6 separate regions of the Homo sapiens genome follow, and all the other regions are linked to region 4. Evidence: promoter capture Hi-C in 16 types of primary human blood cells and fetal thymus (Javierre and others, 2016). All regions are on one chromosome and are shown on one strand. The core of a region is centred on a gene start or on the middle of the fragment in contact, and the rest is flanking DNA. Distances in the headings are between cores, read along the strand shown.

Evidence for each region. The method cuts DNA at HindIII sites, captures the fragments that hold promoters and counts their contacts. A CHiCAGO score of 5 or more calls a contact.
Region 1: a contact is called between a fragment that was not itself captured here and the fragment with the promoter of PRR5 in region 4, in 3 of 17 cell types (total CD8 T cells, naive CD8 T cells and naive CD4 T cells). The highest score is 7.2, in total CD8 T cells.
Region 2: a fragment that was not itself captured here is called in contact with the fragment with the promoter of PRR5 in region 4 in 1 of 17 cell types (total CD4 T cells); the score reaches 5.1 in total CD4 T cells.
Region 3: a contact is called between a fragment that was not itself captured here and the fragment with the promoter of PRR5 in region 4, in 4 of 17 cell types (naive CD4 T cells, non-activated CD4 T cells, total CD4 T cells and 1 more). The highest score is 7.3, in naive CD4 T cells.
Region 5: the fragment with the promoter of PARVG here is called in contact with the fragment with the promoter of PRR5 in region 4 in 2 of 17 cell types (non-activated CD4 T cells and M0 macrophages); the score reaches 5.3 in non-activated CD4 T cells.
Region 6: a fragment that was not itself captured here is called in contact with the fragment with the promoter of PRR5 in region 4 in 1 of 17 cell types (naive CD8 T cells); the score reaches 5.9 in naive CD8 T cells.

Annotation. Positions count from the first base shown.
Region 1 is chr22:44,001,970-44,005,504 of GRCh38, reverse strand. It overlaps a transcript of PARVB not described here. Among named protein-coding and RNA genes, the nearest start is that of PARVB, 21 kb to the left of the region's middle. The HindIII fragment of the contact is 5,362 bases long and covers 1-3,535 here.
Region 2 is chr22:43,980,031-43,983,436 of GRCh38, reverse strand. It overlaps SAMM50 (SAMM50 sorting and assembly machinery component), which reads right to left. Exons shown (of 15, transcript NM_015380.5): 11 at 1,976-2,046. Among named protein-coding and RNA genes, the nearest start is that of SAMM50, 26 kb to the right of the region's middle. The HindIII fragment of the contact is 1,328 bases long and covers 1,422-2,749 here.
Region 3 is chr22:43,806,951-43,810,317 of GRCh38, reverse strand. It overlaps EFCAB6 (EF-hand calcium binding domain 6), which reads left to right. Exons shown (of 32, transcript NM_022785.4): 2 at 1,187-1,323. Among named protein-coding and RNA genes, the nearest start is that of EFCAB6, 3.7 kb to the left of the region's middle. The HindIII fragment of the contact is 3,227 bases long and covers 1-3,126 here.
Region 4 is chr22:44,700,493-44,703,662 of GRCh38, reverse strand. It overlaps PRR5 (proline rich 5), which reads right to left and starts at 1,459. Exons shown (of 8, transcript NM_181333.4): 1 at 1,055-1,459. The coding sequence starts at 1,188. It overlaps PRR5-ARHGAP8 (PRR5-ARHGAP8 readthrough), which reads right to left and starts at 1,459. Exons shown (of 15, transcript NM_181334.6): 1 at 1,055-1,459. The coding sequence starts at 1,188. RefSeq lists a silencer at 1,176-1,585. The HindIII fragment of the contact is 5,837 bases long and covers 1-3,170 here.
Region 5 is chr22:44,179,086-44,182,174 of GRCh38, reverse strand. PARVG (parvin gamma) reads right to left here and starts at 1,250. Exons shown (of 14, transcript NM_022141.7): 1 at 990-1,250; 2 at 258-433. RefSeq lists enhancers at 1-532, 533-1,263 and silencers at 640-769, 1,940-1,989. The HindIII fragment of the contact is 15,489 bases long and covers 1-3,089 here.
Region 6 is chr22:44,080,225-44,083,818 of GRCh38, reverse strand. The region is part of intron 1 of PARVB (parvin beta); the gene reads right to left. Among named protein-coding and RNA genes, the nearest start is that of PARVB, 58 kb to the right of the region's middle. The HindIII fragment of the contact is 1,958 bases long and covers 537-2,494 here.

The DNA of each region.
Region 1 (3,535 bases), core at 79-2,578, 700 kb after region 4:
TGTCTCTGAAAAAATTAAAGAAAAGAAAGAGAAAAGCATGTAACAGGAACTACAGTATGCTATTATTTGTGTAAAAAGAAAAAAAAAAAAACGGCCAGGCGTGGTACCTCATACATGTAATCTCAGCACTTTGGGAGTTCAAGGCAGGAGGACTGCTTGAGCCCAGGAGTTTGACACCAGCCTAGGCAATATAGCAACACCCTGTCTCTACAGAAAAAAAAAAAAAAAATAGAAAAAATTAGCTGGGCACGGTGGCACACGCCTATAGTCTCAGTTACTTGGGAGGCTGAAGCAGGATGATTGCTTAAGTCCAAGAGGTTGAAGCTGCAGTGAGCCGTGATTGTGCCACTGCACTCCAGCCTGGGTGACAGAGTGAAACCCTCTCTCAAAAATAAATAAATAAAACTATAAAATTTTTTTAATCATTGATTTTTAAAGAGCTGTTGTATTTTTCCCACCTTTATTGCAAAATAAAGATTTTCTGTTTTCAAGGCTCATAAGCAGGTCGGTCAGGAGTCTGTTGAGTACACAGCACTGTCCCTGAGAACCTTTTAAATCAATCATCCATTTTTAGAATCTTTTTGGAACAATGGCTCCTAATTCTCCTTAAAATGTACTTCAGGTGCTTAACCCTATTGCCTGTTCTGGCTTAGCCCAGAAGACAAAAGCAGTGCATGCTCACAAACCGGACGTTGTGTTGCAGGACAATCAAAGACTGGAGAGACGGAAAAGGTTCAGGAGAGTTTATTAAATTAAGGTGATCACCAGCTCAGCCGGACATAGGTCCAGAAAGTTTGAGCCCCGAACAAAGGGCTTTTTCTACTTGTAAACATCTTAAGGCAGGAACTACGTGAGGCGGGAAGCAAGTTACAGAAGCAAGAAACAAAGACAGCATTACATTTCTTATATCTTGAGAGAAACATGTCTTGCCACCTAAACTTATTGGTCTTGTGACCCTGCAGCCATGCTAGGGAGGTAAGCAGGAACTCGCTGGGCCTGTAACAAACTTTGAGGAATGTGGAGTTGGGGAGTATAGATAAGGTCCACTGTCCACAGAGAGAAGACAGACTGTTAATATTCTCTTTTAACTTGAGAGTAAGGGGGGGGTCACACTTTGCAGCAACTTTGAGAGGATTTTAAAATTTCTATTACTACTACTGTTAGGTTATAGTTGATTTTATTAATTCCTTCTTCAGTTGCGGGGAGCTCAAAAGGGTCCTCACTGACTTCGCGCGCGACCTGGAGCGCCTGCTCCTGCCCCAGCACCTCTGCCAGCAGGGGGTACCCAGGCTCCCTTTTCTGTGCCCATGGCTCTGCTACTTCGTGTCTGCTGTGATGTCTTTGGCAAACATCTAGTTTGATTGTTTTTTTCTCACTCAAGCTCAGAAAAGGTGGAACTTATTTTCTCTGACCAGAGAATGACATGCAGATGGATACACCCCTCTCCATCCTGTTCTAGAGGCTTCCATCCCAAGAGTGGGGAAGGGCCAGCACCTGGCAAAGTTCTCCAAACAGAACTAGGGGCTCCCTGGAGAAGGGGAGTGGCCAGCCCTGCAGAAGCCAGGCCCAGCAGCGGCAACTACAGGTCATTTGGAACAACTTCAGGGAAGGGGACATCGGAGGTAAGGGATGGGCAGACACAGGAGGCTGTGGGACCTCTGGGGCTAAAGAGGAGGGTAAACCTGACGGCAGTTGCCAGAAGAGCCACCTGTACAACACCCTGCACCTGGCCCAATGTCCATGTTGGAGGAACGAATAAGCGAACAAAGGAAGTGAGAATCCAAAGCCAGCTCCAACTCCTAAACACAGGCTCTTTCCACCCCAACACAAGGTTTCCTGCTCCCCACCCCTGGAAGAGCAGTTTTCAGACAGACAGGAAAGGCTAGGACCCTGGCCTGGGAGTGTGGGAATGGAAAGAAAGGGTCAGATTCCAGGGAGTCCAGTCCTGGCGTGGCTGCCGCAGCACATTATAACAGGGCTTAATCTCTCTGGGTTAAGGTTTGGTGATGAATCCTACTTAGCCTTTACTAGATACAGAACATCCCAGGAAATTCCATTCCACTTGATTTCTGCAGTCAGGTGGAATGGATGTCAAGTCAAGATGTCACCTTTCATCCCCAAGGCCACATCACAGTCTCTTTATGATGTTCTGGTATTTCCAGCAGTAGCTCTGCCCGCTCAGTATTTCAGGGAAATTACGTTTAGATGAACGGTAATTTCTGGCTATGATAATAAGATCAAAGCAATTGTATTTGGGTCTCTGACTCAATACAGGAAGGTCACCTTCTATTTCACAGTAACGGATGGATCCAGGCTGGCTATTATCTCAACCCTGCGAAGTCAGAATATTTTAATTGACCGGCACATCCATCTAGTGACAAATGTAGGGAATGCTTCATCCATTAGAAACTGATTGATTGAAAAGCACGGGGGAAGTACGGGGAAGAAAGGCTGTAATTTTCACAGTTGGTCAAACTTCACAGAATGTCCTTGCTTTTCAAAAATCATGACTATTTTTCTAACAAGATAATGCTGAATCTCCTTTTGCATGAATGTTTGTTGCTCTTAAAAGTTATCTAATGATTTGGCAAAGGAATCCAGTAATTTACTTGTCAGGAAGGCACTATGTATAAAGCTACAACTCTGGCACCGAGACGTGTGTGTCTGTGATTACCATTCGCCCCACTTTCGGGCAAAGCATTTTTCATTCTTGAAAACAGGCCAACTGGTTTGACCCCAGGAAGGCACGACTGAGACAGCCTCCCACGGTTCACTACGCAAACTGAAATCTGTATGTGTAAATGTAAAAACAGGCCTCACGTTTAATGCAGAATTTAATGCCAGTCCTTGCTCTTTACAGTGTTCTCCTGTGTACAGCCACGCAGGAAAGACATCCCTCCTACTAGAACCCACTGGGATTGGCAGGTTCTTACCCACCCCACGGAGCGCAGAGACCACGCACCCGCCTCTGCCCCTCCACCAACACCCACTGCCCCCTCCTGCCACTTCTGAGTTCCTACCACGTGCCAGGCACTTCGCTTTTGTTTCTCTCGATACTGATAGGCTCGACTACCCCATTTCACAAAGGATCTGCGGCAGGGAGGTGAATATGATTTACATCTGAAAATAAAAGGAGGGTGCTTAAGTCCCAGCTTAGCCCTTATGGGCATTCTCACAATTACTCTATTGCAAGTCACCTGGGGAGGACCCCGAAAGCTGAAAAAATTAGCTTTGGACAACGATAGATCAGTGGTTCCCGAAGCGTGGTCCACGGCCCCCTGGAGATCCTGAGACTCCTCCAGGGAGTCCATTGGGTTAAAACTATATTTATAATAATGCAAAGACATTACTTAGTTACTTGGTTCACTGGGTTGACATTTGCACTCACGATGCAAAAGCAGCTGTGGGTGAAAGTGCCTGCACCCTGGCAGAGAATGGCAGAGGCAACACACCCCTATGGCCATTGTATTCTTCGCCACTGTGCTTGGGGAGGGAAACACAAATGCCAGTTTCGCTCATGAATGAAGCAGCAAAA
Region 2 (3,406 bases), core at 836-3,335, 720 kb after region 4:
CTCTTGTTCCCTAATGAACTGGATTGTCACACTCTCACCAACCATATCTGAATAATATGAAAAGCGTGAATTAAAAATTAATTACATAAAAACCCATCCACTTTCTGAAAAATTGAACAGCATATTAGAACCCGATTTTAGATTATGATAATTACTAAAAAATGAATTTAAATGACAAGAGAAATTCTGTGTAATCTTTCCAGCCAAGAGGCAGCCAAGGACACAACCCCGGCAGGTGCCCTCAGAGCCCTCTGACCTTTGAGGCCGCGGGAGGCTAAGAACACCCTGCAGGTCTGCAACAGCACAAAGGGAACAGGGCGCGGCTTTTTCTGGTTTTCCTACCAAATAAAAGCCTTTATGAATTTTTTCATTTTAATTTGAGTTTTAAAACCTATAAATATGTTTTTACTACTTGGGATTTCTAAGCAAGGCTTTTCTGAATACCCCATTAACATGAATTGCAAAAACAGCAAGCTTCGTTTTTAAAGAAATGATCAATCAGGCCACGTGCGGTAGCTCGCGCCTGTAATCCCAGCATTTTGGGAGGCTGAGGTGGGCGCATCACCTGAGGTCAGGAGTTAGAGACCAGCCTAGCCAACATGGTAAAACCTCGCCTCTACTAAAAATACAAAAATTAGCTGGGCGTGGTGCCGGGTGCCTGTAGTCCCAGCTACTTGGGAGGCTGGGGCAGGAGAATAGCTTGAACCCGGGAGGTAGAGGTTGTAGTAAGTCGAGATCGTGCCACTGCACTCCAGCCTGGGTGACAGAGTAAGACTCTGTCTCAAAAAACATACATAAATAAAATAAAAAAGAAACGATAAATCACACATTTGAATTCAAATGATCCAGGATGCATATAACATAACGAGTGAAATGGTTCTGCCTGCTGCATCCCAGGCTCTGGGGTGCCCACCGTCACTGTTTTGGTGGCTGGCTTCCCAGGCCCTCGGTGCTACACCTGCATGCACGCTGGAAAGGGATCCACTAAACATATTCATGTGCAAAATGTTAACTTATGAACACATATCTCCTTATTTTTAATAATTACATAGATCTGGAATGGTTGTGCTAGAATTTCACCATTTCCCTACTGCGGAACTTACATAAGGCAGTTTCAAATTCTTTGCTATTCATCAGCAATGCTACAATGGACATCCTTCTACACATAAATCTTTACACACTTAGAAAAGTACTTTTGTAAATTAGATTCATGGAGTTTTGTGAAACTGTTAGGATCCAGAGTTTATAAACCTAAAATTGTTCTACTTCCAAACCACCATCCAAAAAAGCTGTACCAGTATATTTTAACTAATGCAGGGTTGAAAAAAAAGTTTTTTTGCCCTAGAGGACAATGATTAGTATTTCGAAGCAACAAGTACAAGTTCATACCCTGCTGGTAGGGGTATAAATTGCTGTAAGCTTCCTAAAAGCAGCACCCAGCAATACTATGAGTTTTACTTTGAGAGAGTAATACCACAGAAAATAAAATAAACAACAAGTTATCTTAAAAGTTATTATTTACAATGTTATTTACAAAAATCACAAATTAGAAACCAATGAAATATCAAAAAATACACGGTAGGCTAAAAAGTTATGGTATATGCAAATAATGAAACATATGCCACTACAATGCTGCTTATAAAGAATTTCTCATGACTTAGTGAGTGCTTTCTCTAATTTCTTTAAGTGTTTCTCCATTTTTGCATTTCTGCAATGAGTATGAACTATATTCCTTCATAATCAAAAGGGAACAATACATTTTAAATATAATAAAGTAACTTCCCCAACAAAAGCAAAAAATATTAAGTGTGAGGTATACCCGATATTTAGAAATTAGCTTAAACATAAATACTAAAGGAATATTTGAAATACTATGCTCTCCTAAATAAACTTCTCTAAAATATCTTATAAAAAACAACTGAAAAGATCCAAAGGAAAATATGTGCAAATTATCCATTCATTGATTAGTACTTACCTATCAGCAATGCTTGACGGCTTATCACCAATGGGTACCAACATTCCGCCCCAGAAAGACGCTGAAAAAACCTGTTCAAATAGAAACAAATGGTTGTTTTCTCCCAGCATTCCTTTCACTCCAGGAACATCAGCAACTAGCAACTGGCCACACACTGAATGCCCGTGGCGTGCAGAGCTCCGCGATGGGGTGCAAGGGCCGCAGGAGAATGCCTGGCTTGTCCCGTTGCAGAGCTACCCTTCGAAGGGCCACGTGGATTCTATTAAAACACGCAATTCCAAAGTCCAAATCAAGACACACCGAAGGCGAGCAGGGCCCGGCTTCCATTCGGACACAGGGCAGGCCCCTGCTCTGCAACGGGAAGTGACGCCCAGCAGCAGGAGCCAAGGCCTCACAGAGGAGGGAGCCAGGCCCCCTGCACCTGCTCAGGCCTCTTTGCCGCGGCCTCAAAATGTGGAAGGATTCAGGGCACACGCATTTTAGGCTGAAAGAAGGTACCGGCTGCAAGGCTCCCCCAATGCAGAGACGCACTCCCAACCCCACTCTCAAGGACAGAGCCTTGTCTCTTACAGGGCAGGAGGCAGTAGCCAGTCTTGGCTCAGTGAGCCCATCTTCATGCCACAAAACCTTCTCAACAATGTCCTCAACCAGGTAGAGGCTCTCCTGCTCCCCTGCACCCCATGTTTTCGGGCGGCTGGCCGAGCCTCACACGTTCTCTGCCTTGCAAATGCCTATGTCCCTCCAAGCTGCTCAGAAATGGCTTTCTCAGAAGCTTCTGTAGGAAGGACAAGCTTCTGTCCCCACAGCAGCTGGCATTTTCTTCTCAGCCAGGTGTCCGGACTCTGCTCAGAAGGCTCCAGGGCTTCCCTCTCATGTAGAGTGGAAGCAAGAGCCCACATCCGGCCTCCAAGGCCCTCCTGCCACTACTGCTCTTGGAATTCATGCTCCCGCCCGAGGTGTCCCGCTGTCCTACCCTTGCTCCCTCACCGTGCTCTGGGCTGTGCTCGGGGGTTGCCTTACTAGCCACCCTCCCTGACCATCCTAACTAGATGGCATCCCCTTCTGGTCACTTTCTACCCCTTAATTCTGCTTTATTTTTCTTCACAACACTTGTCACCGCCTCCTCAATGATATATAAAGATACTAGCTTATAGGTTTCCCTCCTCAAGAATGGAAGTTCCTTGAGAGCAGGAATTGGGCTTTGTTCACTGATATATTCTTAGTGCCTGGACAGTGCCTGGCAGCCAGCATACATGTGTTAGACTGGTGGATGGATGGGTGGGTGGGTGGGTGGGTGAATGGATGGATGGATGGATGGATGGATGTGTGGGTGGGTAGGTGGGTGGGTGGATGGGTGGATGGGTGGATGGATGGACGGACGGATGGATGGATGGATGGGTAAATGGGTGGGTAGATGGATGGGCACTACCA
Region 3 (3,367 bases), core at 264-2,763, 890 kb after region 4:
ACTACTTCTATTTCTACTACAGCAACTACTAATACTACTACTGGCTAATACTAATTGAACACTTACTGTGTGCCAAGCACAGTTTGGTCCCTCATACTTTTTAAATTTAGTCCTCACAAGTTGGCTATGGAAAAGTACAAGTTGGGTGTGGTGGCTTATGCCTGTAATCCTACCACTTTGGGAGGCTGAGGCAGGAGGATCGCTTGAGGCCAGGAGTTCGAGACCAGCCCAGGCAACAAAGTCAGACCCCCCCCATATCTATGGTGGCATGTGCCTGTACTTCCAGCTACTCAGGAGGCCGAGATGGGAGGATCACTTGAACCCAAGAGTTTTAGGTTGCAGTGAGCCATGATAATGCCACTGTACTCCAGCCTGGGCGACAGAATGAGACCCTGTCTCAAAAAACAAAACAGGCTGTGCGCGGTGGCTCATGCCTGTAATCCCAGCACTTTGGGAGGCCGAGGCGGTTGGATCACCTGAGGTCAGGAGTTCGAGACCAGTCTGGCCAACGTGGTGAGACCCTATCTCTACTAATACAAAAAATTAGCCAGGCATGGTGGCAGGCACCTGTAATCCCAGCTACTCCAGAAGCTGAGGCAGGAGAATCTCTTGAACCTGGGAGGTGGAGGTTGCAGTGAGCCGAGGTCACACCATTGCACTCCAGCCTAGGCAACAAGAGTAAAACTCCATCTCAAAACAGACAAAACCAAAACCAAACAAAAAAACAAAACAAAAGGCAACAGGGACACAGAGAGGTTAAGGGACTTAACAAAGCTGATAAATGGTAGTGAGTATGGCTCCAACTCCAGGACTGCCTGATAATAACCTGTGTTCTTGATGAGTATGCTATCACTCTCAAACACTTATATACTCTACAAGTCCTGCCAAGGCTTTGAGATGACTTGTAAGAATAACTACAATGTGATAAAATAGAAACATGTAAATCAGAATCATTAAAAATATAGACAGAATAGGAAGGTATCAGAAAGAAGGAATACTCAGATCATCTATAACGGTTAATAAAGTTGGGCTGGAAATTTAGCTGGGAGCTTCTTGTCAACTCATGGAAAAATAAAAGTAAAAAAATAGAAGGTAATAAAATTTATTTTTTTTTCCAGGGAAATAAGGCCTTTTGATTCATCTGGAAAAATAGGTCTAACCTGTTTCTAAAATAAATTTCTCACAGGGCTCATCGCAGAGGATTGGAAGGGCCTAGATTACTGCCCAATGACAAAAGTGTGGGCTTAATGTCCTCACTCTTCAGGGAGAGAATGTGGACTTTAGCATTTGAACTGAATATTTGAGATTGAAGATTTCTGAATAGTAAGTTTTCGATAACACCTTCTGAATGTAGTTTTTCCCCTGGGACGTTGTAAATGGTGTTATCCTGCATCCTGGGTTGGTTTCAGTCATTTGTTTGCTCATTTACTTAGCAACTATTCATTGAGCATCTGCCATATGCCAACCCCTGCCTAAGCATTGGGGATCCCCAGGCAGTGGTCATCTCACTGCCTTGGCACTCCTGGTGTTTCCATCCTGCCAGTTCTTCCTGCTGGGTTTTTTTCTGGACTCACTTTTTGTTTTTTCTCTGTTATTTTATTCTGATATTCTGAGGTGACACCTATAACCATATAGCTGTTTTTTGTTTTTGTTTTTGTTTTTGTTTTTGCCCAATGCTCTGTCTGATTTATCTTTCTGTATATCCTCGGGACCTAAAAATAACAGCTACCAAATAGCTAAAGTTCACTGTGTGCCAGGCACTTCACGAATATCACCTGTGATCCATCTACACCTTTGGAGCAGTGGCATTTACCATTTTGGGGTCACCTGCCTTTTGAGAAGTGCTCTAGAAAAATCATCTCACACACAGTTTTGCATGTCAGTAAGTCTGTAGGGCTATAAAAGCACACACATGGACCGCGATTCCATGTTAAGAATACTTGCTTAAAGGAGAGATATTCCAGTGGTCCCTCAGTATCTGTGGGAGATTCGTTTCAGCACCCACTCGAAGATACCTAGATTCATGGATGTTCAATTCCCTTATATAAAATGGTGTAGTATTTGCATATAACCTACATAATCCTCCCATATGCTTTAAATTATCTCTAGATTACTTACAATACCTAATACAATGTAAATGCTATGGAAATCGTTATACCATATCATTGAGACAAGGAAAAAAGTCCATACATATTCAGTACAGACATCAACATCCATATTTTTCCTGAATATTTTCAATCCACTGTTGAATCTGTGGATGTGGAACCCATGGATATGGACGACAACTGTATCTCCCTTTTTCAAATGAGGAAACTGAGTCAGGAGGAGGTTAATTAACTTGCAAGTTGTTGTGGTGGATGGTGGAGCCAGTTTGACCCTATGCCTGCTTGACGTCAAAGGTTTTGATTTTTCCACCGTCCAAGAATGTAGATGCTCAGTAAATGGCCAATGTGTATATGGAAGTGTGTGGAAGGCTATAAAGGGAACTTGATAGTTGATATGTCCCAAAATATAACAGTCCATTTGATATCAGTATAGACAAGAAGATTTTTCTCAAGTGTTTGGATTTAACTGCCAAAACCTTTTGTGTTGCTTACAATTTTTTCCAATTTAGTCGAGTGATAATTTCCACACCCCTCTCCATGATACAGTTCCAGCAATTTTTGCTTCTGGTGCCATTTCTATTTGGCTGTGCACACTTTTTACTCTTGTGTTGAATTATGTTTTCTCTGGATGCCAAGGCAGATGGATGGCACTTTTGTTATGATTCTGATATAAATAGCACGTGTTTAAAACTGGACATCAATACTTCTCTGGCAAATAAACAAATATATCAGTGAGATAGCCTTCTAATTGTGTTTTTCCCATTGGTTAAGAAGTGTATTTGATGGTCTGTGACTTGATGCTTATTTTGGGGGTATTAGTTTTTATGATCCTTGCCAATTTCTACCTCACCAAGTTCTGAAGTAATCACATTCATTAATGTCTCAAAATTCTCTTTATTTTGAAAACCTCAGCTGAGGATGGTGTAAAGTCAGGGGTGAGCTACAGAACTCCTCACAGTGCCTTGGTCATACTCAGAACCTTGTTTAGCTTTCAAAATCAAGGGTAAAATTAGCCTAAGCTTCTATCCCTTGCAGTCATAGTGTTGATAACTGTGGTCCATCAAGAGCAAAGTTTAATGGGGTGCTTACTGCATGCTATGCCATGTTGAGTGTAAAAAGGTAAGTGGAGTCCACTGGAGGGACTTATTGTCTAGCAGGGGCCAACATAAAGGTCTGGAAGCAGAGAATCAAAGTGAAAATTGAGGTAGGACTAGAGGAACAGATGGGAGAATATTAGAACTTTTACTTCATATTTTACCCAC
Region 4 (3,170 bases), core at 210-2,709:
GTTCCCACACCAGCCCTCCCCACAGGGAGGAATGCGAATACCCACTGACGGAGAGGGAAACGGAGGCAGGCATGTGACAGCCCTCTAGCAGTTTGCAACTCAGAGACAGAAGAGACCACGTTTGAAGAGGGTCTCGCTGGCAGCCCTGAGCCCACCATGACGCTCACAATGCATTCAATGAACTGAAAATAACGTGTGTCCAAGTGACAGCCGGGTTCCCGGTGGCCAAGACCACAGCCGGTGGAGCATCTGGCAAGATTTTACTGCCAGGTGTGGGCGCGAGAGGGGCAACGTCCACAGCCTCCCCCGAACAGTGTCCACAGCCTCCCCCGAACAGTGTCCACTGCCTCCCGCGAACAGCCTGCCTCACTTTCTCCTGCCTCTCATTTTCCTAGGGAGCAGAGACGCTGGGGAGTTCCACTAAATAAACCGTCTCTTTTCCAGATCCCGGACTTGCTCCTCAAACAAAGCTGGGAGAAGGGGCTTCCCAGGCCCCTGCTTGTCTGGGAATGACCCCTGGAGGAGAGTCCTCTAAAGAATGCCTCGCAGCTGCCGCACCCCCTGCTGACAGCTGGAGGACAGGGGGCCTCTCAAGGGAAAGCCGAAGGGAGCTTAAAGAGACACAGGAAGCCTGCGCGACCCACCCACTGAGCCCCGAGGCTCCCGTGCTCAGCCGCAAAATGGGAAAAATACTTCCTGCTCCGTTAGCCTCCCAGGTTGTCACGAGCACCGCAGTGGAGACGTGGAAAGACCCCGGGTAGGAGGCGGGCACGCGGCTTCCCGGCCCACCCCGCCGCCCACCCGCCGGGCGCTTCTGGGCCAGCCCCGGGCGCTGGCGGGCCTCGCTCCCTTCCCTGGGTTCTGGAACCACGCTGCACTGAACTTTCCTCCAGGCCCGCACCACTCCGGCGGGGCAAGTTCTTTGCAAACTGTGAAGCGCCGCGCCGCCTTCGGCAGCGTTCCTGGCTCGGGGCGGCCCCTAGCCCGCGGACGGCTCAGGGGTCCCCTCCCCCGGCTCCAGGGCCTCCGGGTGGCCGGGAGGGCGCGGCCTTACCTGTTCCAGGTGGCGTTGGCGCAGGCCCGGCGCTGCTGCGTGCCCCGCTCGTCCGCGGCGGCGGCCGGCTCTCTCTTGCCCAGGTCACTGAGGCTGGGCGAACTCATGAACTTCAACCTGCGGAGAGTCCTCATGGTGACCCGGGCCGCCTGCGCCGCGCCCACGCGCGCCCCACGCCGCGCCCTGCGCCACGCCGCACCAAGGGCCCCGGGCCGGCGATGCGCCCTCTACGCGGAAACTCCGGCGAGAGCAGGAAGCCGAGCGGTCCTGCGGGGTCCCGCCCCGGCCCCGCGCCTCCGTCTCGGGTCCCGCGCCGGCCGCCCCGCCGGGTTAATCATTGCACGGAGAGGCTCAGCGTGGAGCGCCAGGCGCGCGGCCAGCACAGACCCGGCGCAAACGGAGGCCGGGGGCGGACCCGGGGGCGGGCCCAGGGGCGGGTCTCGGCGCCCCGGGGGGCGGGGCGGGGAAGGGGGCGGGGGCATCGCGGGCGGGGCGGGGCCTCAGGCGAGGGGGCGTGTGCAAGAGGCGGAGCCGGCGTCTCCGCGGCCGCAGCTGCCACGACGCCTCGCTGGGTCTGCCCTCTGAGGACGTGCTCACCCTCCTCCCCTCTTCCGAGGGCCCCACGTGCCCACAGGAAACCAACACGCACAGGACGCAGGGCCCAAGCCCAAGCGCCCGCCCCCCGCCCAGCACTGCGGTCGCGCCCACACGATGTCCTTCGACCCCGGCCCCGGAGGTCTCCCTCCACAGCCCTCCTCGCAAAGGCTGTGCCACAGAGGTGCCTCCGTACCCCTCACCTGAACACAGGCTCCCCCACCCAGTTCTCATGAGGACTTTGGGTAGAGGCCTTCAGTCCCCTCCAGGCACCTTGGCCCAAGAACCCACTCCACCCGGGCTCAGCCTAGACCCCCTTGGACAGGGACTTCAGCATTGCCTGGCTGCCTGGAGGATTTGCTGGAGTGAGGGCTTGAAGAAGTAGAGGGTTTGCTCCTTATCTCCCACCCCCAGGTCTCTTGGATGGTAAAACCAAGCAGTTTCCCAAGTCCCTGTGGTGGGGGCAGAGTGATCCCAGTGAAGGCAGGGCACAGCCGGTGCTTCCTGCCTGCTTCGCAGAGCACTTTTAGATGTCTGATTTCACATGAACTAACATGAACTACTTCCGTGAGGTAGAGATTATTCTTCTCCCCATTTTCCAGTTGAGGACATTGAGGCTCACAGAGTGAAATAACTTGCCCAACATTGTGCCAACATTGTGCAATCAACAAATGGTAGAGTTGGGCTTCACCACAGGGAGCGTCCAGCCCCTTGAACAGGGCCCTTCCCAGTCCCCAGCTTCTGGGATTCCCACAAGGCTCACCTGACCCCTCCATCAGATGGGGGGTGACAGCCACAGCTCCAGGAGCTGGGAGGGCCCCATATAAAATGTAAGAGAGAGGTGATGGCTCATGCCTGTAATCCCAGCACTTTGGGAGGCCGAGGTGGGAGGATCACCTGAGGTCAGGAGTTCAAGACCAGCCCGGCCAACATGGAGAAACCCCATCTCTATTAAAAATACAAAATTAGCTGGGCGTGGTGGTGCATGCCCGTAATCCCAGCTACTCAGGAGGCTGAGACAGGAGAATCGCTTGAACCTGGGAGGCAGAGGTTGCAGAGAGCTGAGATCTCGCCACTGCACTCCAGCCTGGGCAACAACAGCAAAACTCCGTCTCAAAAATCATCATCATCATAATAAAATAAAATAAAAAGTAAGAGAGCCTCATGAAGAGTCTTTGTTTAGTGCAAATCAACCAGTGTCTCCTGAGTACCTCCTGTGTTCCAGACATAAATACCATCGTCTTTGGGAGACAGAGACATAAACAGACAAACTTGCTCATCAGTAAAGCGGGATGGAACGGTTCATCTCACAGGCAGCTTGGGGCCCACAGGCAGCAACAGGTGCTTTATAAACTAACTGTCAAGTGCTGTACACGTTTTCTTTTCTTTTTGAGACAGAGTCTCACTTTTTGGCCCAGGTTGAATGCAGTGGCACCACTGTGGTCACTGCAGCCTCTACCTCCTGGGTTCAAGCAACCCTCCCACGTTAGCCTCCTGAATAGCTGGGACTACAAGGCATGTG
Region 5 (3,089 bases), core at 1-2,500, 520 kb after region 4:
TTCACCTGGAGACGGAGGGGTTGGCTGAAGTTCAGAGGCGGCAACTCCTCAGTAGAACAGGGAGGGAGGACGCCGAGCAGCCTCTGAGCAGGGGCAGCCGGAGGGGCCGTGGGGACTCAAGGTCCCACTTTACCGACTCCCTTCCCCGGGTGGCCTGGGCTGGGACTGCACTCTGGGATCCTTCCCAGGTGGTGTCTGGGCCCCTCCCTCCGTGACCCCCAACACTCAAGTATGGTGGCCCCGATGCCAGAACTCACCCAACCGCTTTCCACGCAGGAAAACAAAGGCCTACTGAGTGCAAAGGGTGGTCCCTGGATTCCGAATGGAAGCAAGTTCCGGGTTCTTCTGGGGTCTTCGGGGACCAGGCCGGGAGGCAGGAGCCCCGCTGCTCACTTCCTCCAGGCCCGCTCAGCCGGCAGGAGCTTCCTCCTCTCTGCGGCAGGGCCCGAGGGGGGTGGATGCCGTGAAAGTGAAGCTGCCACAAACCTCCAGAAAGCTCTGCCCGGAGCCCCAGCGCCCGCCGTGCCGCCTGGGCCCCCGGGGTTCTGCAGGCCACTTAAACTCAATGCTTTCATTTCTCCCCCTCTCCCCGCCTTCCCCAAACCATGCCAGTTTCCCCGCAGGCTGTTCACCTCCAAAATGGCAGCTACATAGGCCAGAGCCTGGGGTCGACCCCCGCAACCCACCACCAGCACCCTGTCAGCCTGGCCTCCACCCTCCATCCCGCACCGCCGTCCTCCCACCTCCACACCCCGCCCCGGGCCAGGCCCCTTCCTCTCCCGGGACCACGCAGGAGACTCCTACCTGGACTCTCGGCTGCAGACTTCCCCACGCCCCCTGCCCGCCCCTGAGCTGAGGCTCCCACAAGCCCTCGGAGGAGTGAGTCACTTCCTGACCCCACTCACTCAAACCCACCAACGGCACCCAATAGCTCTTAAAATAAAATCCAGGCTGTGCGTGGTCTGTCTCTCTCAATCGCGGTTACATACCCGTGTCTAGAACAATGCTTGGCACAAAGTGGGCTCAGTGAATAAATATTGGTGGTGGTTGTTGCCAAGGGGATCGGGAAGGCTTTCCAGAGGAGAATGGGGCCTTGACGGCTGCATAGGAGTTTGCAGTGGAAGAAGAAGGGGTGAGAACGTGGCAGGTGGAGAAAACAGCGTATGCAAAGGCATAGCAGGGTTCGAGAAGGAGAGATCTCAGCACAGTAGATAGAGAAACACTTCAGACCCGAGCTGGTCTCTCAAGCTGGAATCTTCACCATCCGGGCTGAAATGGTGAGTTTCCCTAGCAACAGGTGACTGGGAAGCTATCTACCCTTTCTGACAGGTTAGGCAGAAAGTGGCTAAATCAGGTGGGATGCAGGTGTAAGGAGTGTGTGAGAGCAGGAAAGTAGGGTCGTTTACAAGAAGTTAATAAAAAATGACAAAACTTAGTACTGGTATTGTTGCTAATATTTATGGAGTCATTGGTGATGAAACAAACATAATTTTAAGGGCTTTCATTTTACTGGAAACTTCCTTGTGAGGTAGGTACAATCATCACCCCCATATTACAGAGGAAGACACTGAGGCACATGAGTCAGTCCCTGCCATTCTGAAGTGCCCGTGCTAGACTGGGGCTTGTAACAGGTGGGGAGAGAAGCCACCGTGCAGGACCTATTTTGCTGGGGCGTGTGTAGCAGGCTCAGCCCAGCTCTGGACACAGTGGTTCTGGTGGTGGCTTCTGACTCTGGATCACAGCCACATAGATGTAGCAGCAGTCACAGTCCCAGCAGCAAAGAGACGGTATATTCCCATGTGCTAACTGAAGACTGTTTAATAAAGGGACAGCTGGGGCAGGGTTAAAGGAACCCAGAAGAGACAGTGCTACACCCCAGGCTAGCAACATGGGGAGCTGTTACTTCTTCAAAACCTAGAGGGTGAAGGAGGGAGTGGGTGGCAGAGCCCAGGAACAGAATCACTGAAGCTCTAAGAGGGGCCTCGGGATAGGAGCTGTGGCCTTTGGTAGAGGGACACAGCCAGCTCATGGTGAACCAGCAGAAGGGCACAGCTGGAGGAATCAATGACCAAGCCTCACTCTCCTCCCTCCTGCCAGGGCCTCCCCTGCCCACATCCAGCCAGAAGCCAGAGAAAAGAAGTCCCCTGCTGCGGCCCATAGATGTGAGGAGAGAAAATGGTGGGGAGTGGATCTGCAGAGGTGAACCTAAAGCATTCAACCCAGAAAGCATGCTTCTAGGGCCAGCCTGACTCGGCAGCTTCCTTCAGGAGCCAGCTCTGCAGTATTCTTCCAAGAGTCCTTGCTGGAGGCGCTGCCTCCAGCCTTCCAACAGCTTGAGAATCACACAGCTTCCTATGTTAGATTCCTTTCTCCTCCAAACAACTGAAGAGACTCTAATCATCGGCAACTGAATCCCAATTAACTTCGGATTTGTTACCAGAAACAATTGCAGGCAACACGACCTCCAGGATGGGAACTGGGATTGGTTACTTGTTCTGGTTGATTTAAAGGCAGTGGGGACCTAGTAACTGTTAGAGAATGGAGTTCTAATAGATCGTAGCCTGTGATGGCAAAATAATTACCTGTCATCACTCAGAACGAAGTACCTATTAAATTGTGGCTTTGGCAGAGTTGTGGCTTCCATACGCAATACGAGCACAGGTTATCTAAGGACTGTGGGGTGAGCTTGTTATCATCACACCAAAGAGTTTAAAGCAAGAAAAGGACAGTCCCAGGGCTTTACATTCTCAGCTCAAGGTATGTGCAGAATACAGGGAGTTCTCTGATAGCCCTCAAAGCTATCTCTCATCTCTTGGGGCTGCAGGGCTGATGTAAGAATCAGATGCGAAATCTAATCCTGTATGGTGTGGAGTTACAACAGACTAAATCCACAACTCACAAAGCCTCTTGTGTGTAGAGCATTGTTTAGGGGAAGAGAGGGACTCTAAGAATTGGAAGAGTAACATGGAGATAAGTCCAAGCACCCCCAAACCCCAATTAAGAGAAAGGCATGGATAGAAGGGAATTATTCCAGCCTTTTTTTTTTTCAGAGACACGGTGTGAAATATACCTGTGCAAATATGCCAAAC
Region 6 (3,594 bases), core at 266-2,765, 620 kb after region 4:
CAGTGCACCCCATGGCTCCCACCAGCTCCAGGGTAAAACGCAAAACCTTCATAGTGGTACCCGATGACTGTTAATGAGCAGACCCCTCCTCTCATCAATACAGCTGCAGTTACCATGCTTCCACACTCATCGTCTGATGAGGCCATTCCAGGCCACTTCTGTAGGTCATATCTCTGCCCCTCTGCTCGACTGTCCCCACAACCTGCAATGCCCTTCACTTCAGGTCAGCTAGCTCCACCCATTTCCCACCGTCTGGAAAGCACACTCTGCACATCCTCTATCCCTGGGTGCAGTTCGGGCCCCTCCTCTGGGTTTCCACAGCTCCCCGTGCACATGACAATGACAAACCCTATTCCCCGATCATGTGATTGTGGACTGTGCTCATCTCCCTGCACCCCCCGACCCCGCAAGGAGTGCACAGGGGCCAGGTCCCATTCATGACCATGGCCTCACATCCTGCATAAAACCCAGCACATGGATAACTGCTCTCTGAATATCTGTGGAATGAATGAATGAATGAACACAAATGCTAAGCTTATGTAGGCCAAATGGAGCTACATAGATAATTTCTACAAGAGAAAGTCAGGGAACTGAACTGACGGCTCTCACACAGCATCCCACCTCCAGCCACTTAATTGGGTGGAAAAAGAGGGTTTCCATTAAGGTTTACATTAGCCTGGCAGTCGTGTTTCACAAGGAACCCAATTACCCTGATGTGGCCACGTAGAGGCTGATGGGCTCAGGAGGAAGGAGTCCGCTCCGCAATTAGGGACTTGCTAGTACAAGCAGCCCAGGAGCCAACATCCCCCCAGCCTCACCTCCTGGGGTGTGCATTCCGACCAGCCACCTGCTGCAGGAATCTGAAATACAGACCACCCCGAGATGGAAGGAGTCCATCTGGCTCAGGGAAACTGGGTCTTCTGAATACGAAAAGTTGCTTACATAGAAATGTAAAAAAAGCTCCGAAGCCCATGTTAAACAGATGATTCCCTTGGCCCAGAAACACGGTCTTTTCTTCCCCTTTGTCCCTGGGGTGATCAGGAAAATGTTAGAACCACAGAAAAATGAATCCTTTGTGGGAAGGAGAACAGGAAGAAAGACTTCCAGGTGCACGGTAAAATGTCAGGTTGGCCGTCTAACCCACCTGGGCGAGAAACCGGGGCATGGAGGGGCCGGTGAGCTTCTTGTCTACAAAGGAGGACACATTCTTTAGAGACAATGATGATCTGATTGGTTTCTCAGACTGAAAGCCACATGAGTCAGTTTTTGTTTTTTGTTTTTTGTTTTTGTTTTTGTTTTTGAGACGGACTCTTGCTCTGTCGCCCAGGCTGGAGTGCAGTGGCTCGATCTTGGCTCACTGCAACCTCCACCTCCCAGATTCAAGCGATTCTCCTGCCTCAGCCTCCTGAGTAGCTGGGATTACAAGTGTGCACCACCACACCCAGCTAATTTTTGTATTTTTAGTACAGATGAGGTTTCACTATGTTGGCCAGGTGGATCTCGAACTCCTGATTTCAAGTGATCCACCTGCCTCGGCCTCCCAAAGTGCTGGGATTACAGGCACGAACCACCGCACCTGGCCAACTTCTTTAATTCCTCCCTTCAATTGCCACCCTTCCGGAGCACGGGAACCTACCGCCCAGTGCCCCCACCTTGCGGTGCACAGTGGGATACACATCCCCAAAGCCAGCCTCCCCCGCCCCAAAAAAGAGCTACCCCATTTGCCTCCCGTTTTCTCGGCCCCTCACCCTCAGCTCCAGTGCCCAGCAGCCACTGCCTCCTGACCACTCTCATCCTAATTCCTTAGCAAGTCCTTCGACGCAAGCCTCTGCCTCTGTGATTTTCAGAGGCTGCGTCTGTCACATTTCTCCAACCCATCACGCTGGCTTTCAGGGGGTACTTCCAAATGATTTCAGTCACTGGTCATGAAATCTGTCATTAGCTAATAATAAGAAGAAAAGAGCCTCGAGGCAGCAGAAGGTGGGGGCAGGGTGTGAAACCCAAAAGAAACAATTCTCAGAAGAGGATGCCAACCTTTCCCCTGGCGTGTGTCACCGTCACCGCCCCTCCGAGCCCAGCCACTTGCCAGCAAGCTGCACAATGAGCCCCACCGAGGCGGGGGGCAATGGAACCCGCTGCTCACTTCCAGCAACAGACGAGCCCCATGAGACTGCCAGGCTCTTAGAGAAACGCACTTCATAAAGGAAAGCAGAAACGGCCGTGCAGAAGCTAAGTCTGGAGAAGCACGTTCGCTGGTTCCCAAGTTGTGAAACTCGTATTAATTAATGTGACTGGTAACGTCCCAATGTATCCAGGGAAGTCCAAAGCGTTGTCTGCTGAGAAAATAAGAAGATTAAATCATTAAGTCGTTAGAAAAAGAAAGGCTTTACTATGCACCTGCCATGGAAACGGGGATGTGGGAAAGGCCAGAAGGACAGTGCCCTCTAGCGGCTGTCTCCCCTGCAGAAGTGACACAGATGCCTCCATGAAAGCTTCCCCCAACAGGAGGACCCGGCCTGCTTCGGAGACAGGCCCCTTCCAAAAGCAGGTGGATTTGGGGAGTGCTGGAAGCCATTGGCCTCTGGTGCTGGCAGCTCAGTTCCCACCTGAGATACTCAAAGAACCACCATGGCACTGCCTTGGGCCCCACCGGGCACAGACAACTCTACCCATCAGGAACAGATGCAATGCCCACAGCAGAAAAGGAGAAAGGCCTTCACGGCCCACAGGGGTCCCCACACCCCTGCTGGAGACTGCACCTTTGGAGGAACAGCCCCAAACAAGGGATGGAGGGATGACGGCAGGTGGAGAGTCACTCCATGACCCCACAAAGCAGGTCAGGTTCCCCACTCCCCGCATCCATTCCCCTTCCTCTCCTTTCGAGGCACTATTAGTCTAAGGCACATCTGTGCTACAGGATTTGCGTCTACAGTGCTCTGAAAGGACAGATGCATGGCCTGCTCTGTCTCCCCTGCTCCCAACATGACGCCTGGACTGAGGCAGGTGCTCCGTGAACACTCGGTGAATTCATGAATGAATGAATCAGGGTTTCGGGACTCTACCATTCTCTCTACTGCAGTGTCTCCTGTAAAAACTCAAAGGATGTACTTTCTACTCCATCTGTCACTGTCTCTATGGAAGGCTGGATCTTGGTCCCTGCAAAGATGTCCACATCAAGTCCCAGGAAACTGTGACTTTGCATGGCAAGAGGGAGTTTGCAGATGTGATTAGGTAAGGACCTTGGGGTGGGAGATTAGCCTGGATTATGCAGGGGGCCCAATGTGATTGACAGGGTCCTTACAAGAGGAAGCAGGAGGGCCAGAGCCAGAGGAGGTGTGGCGAAGGAGACAGAGAAAGATCGGGAGATGGCTTTGAAGACAGAGGAAGAGGCCAGGCACTAAGGAACGCAGGTGCCTCTGCAAGTTGGAAAAGGCAAGGAATGGGATTCTCCCCTGGAGCCTCCGGAAGGAACCGGCCCTGCTGCCACCTTGATGTTGGGACTCCTGACCTCCAGAACTGTAAAATAATAGATTTGTGTTGGTTTAAACCACTGGGTTTGTGGTATTTTGTCACAGCAGCCCTAAGTAAATTAAC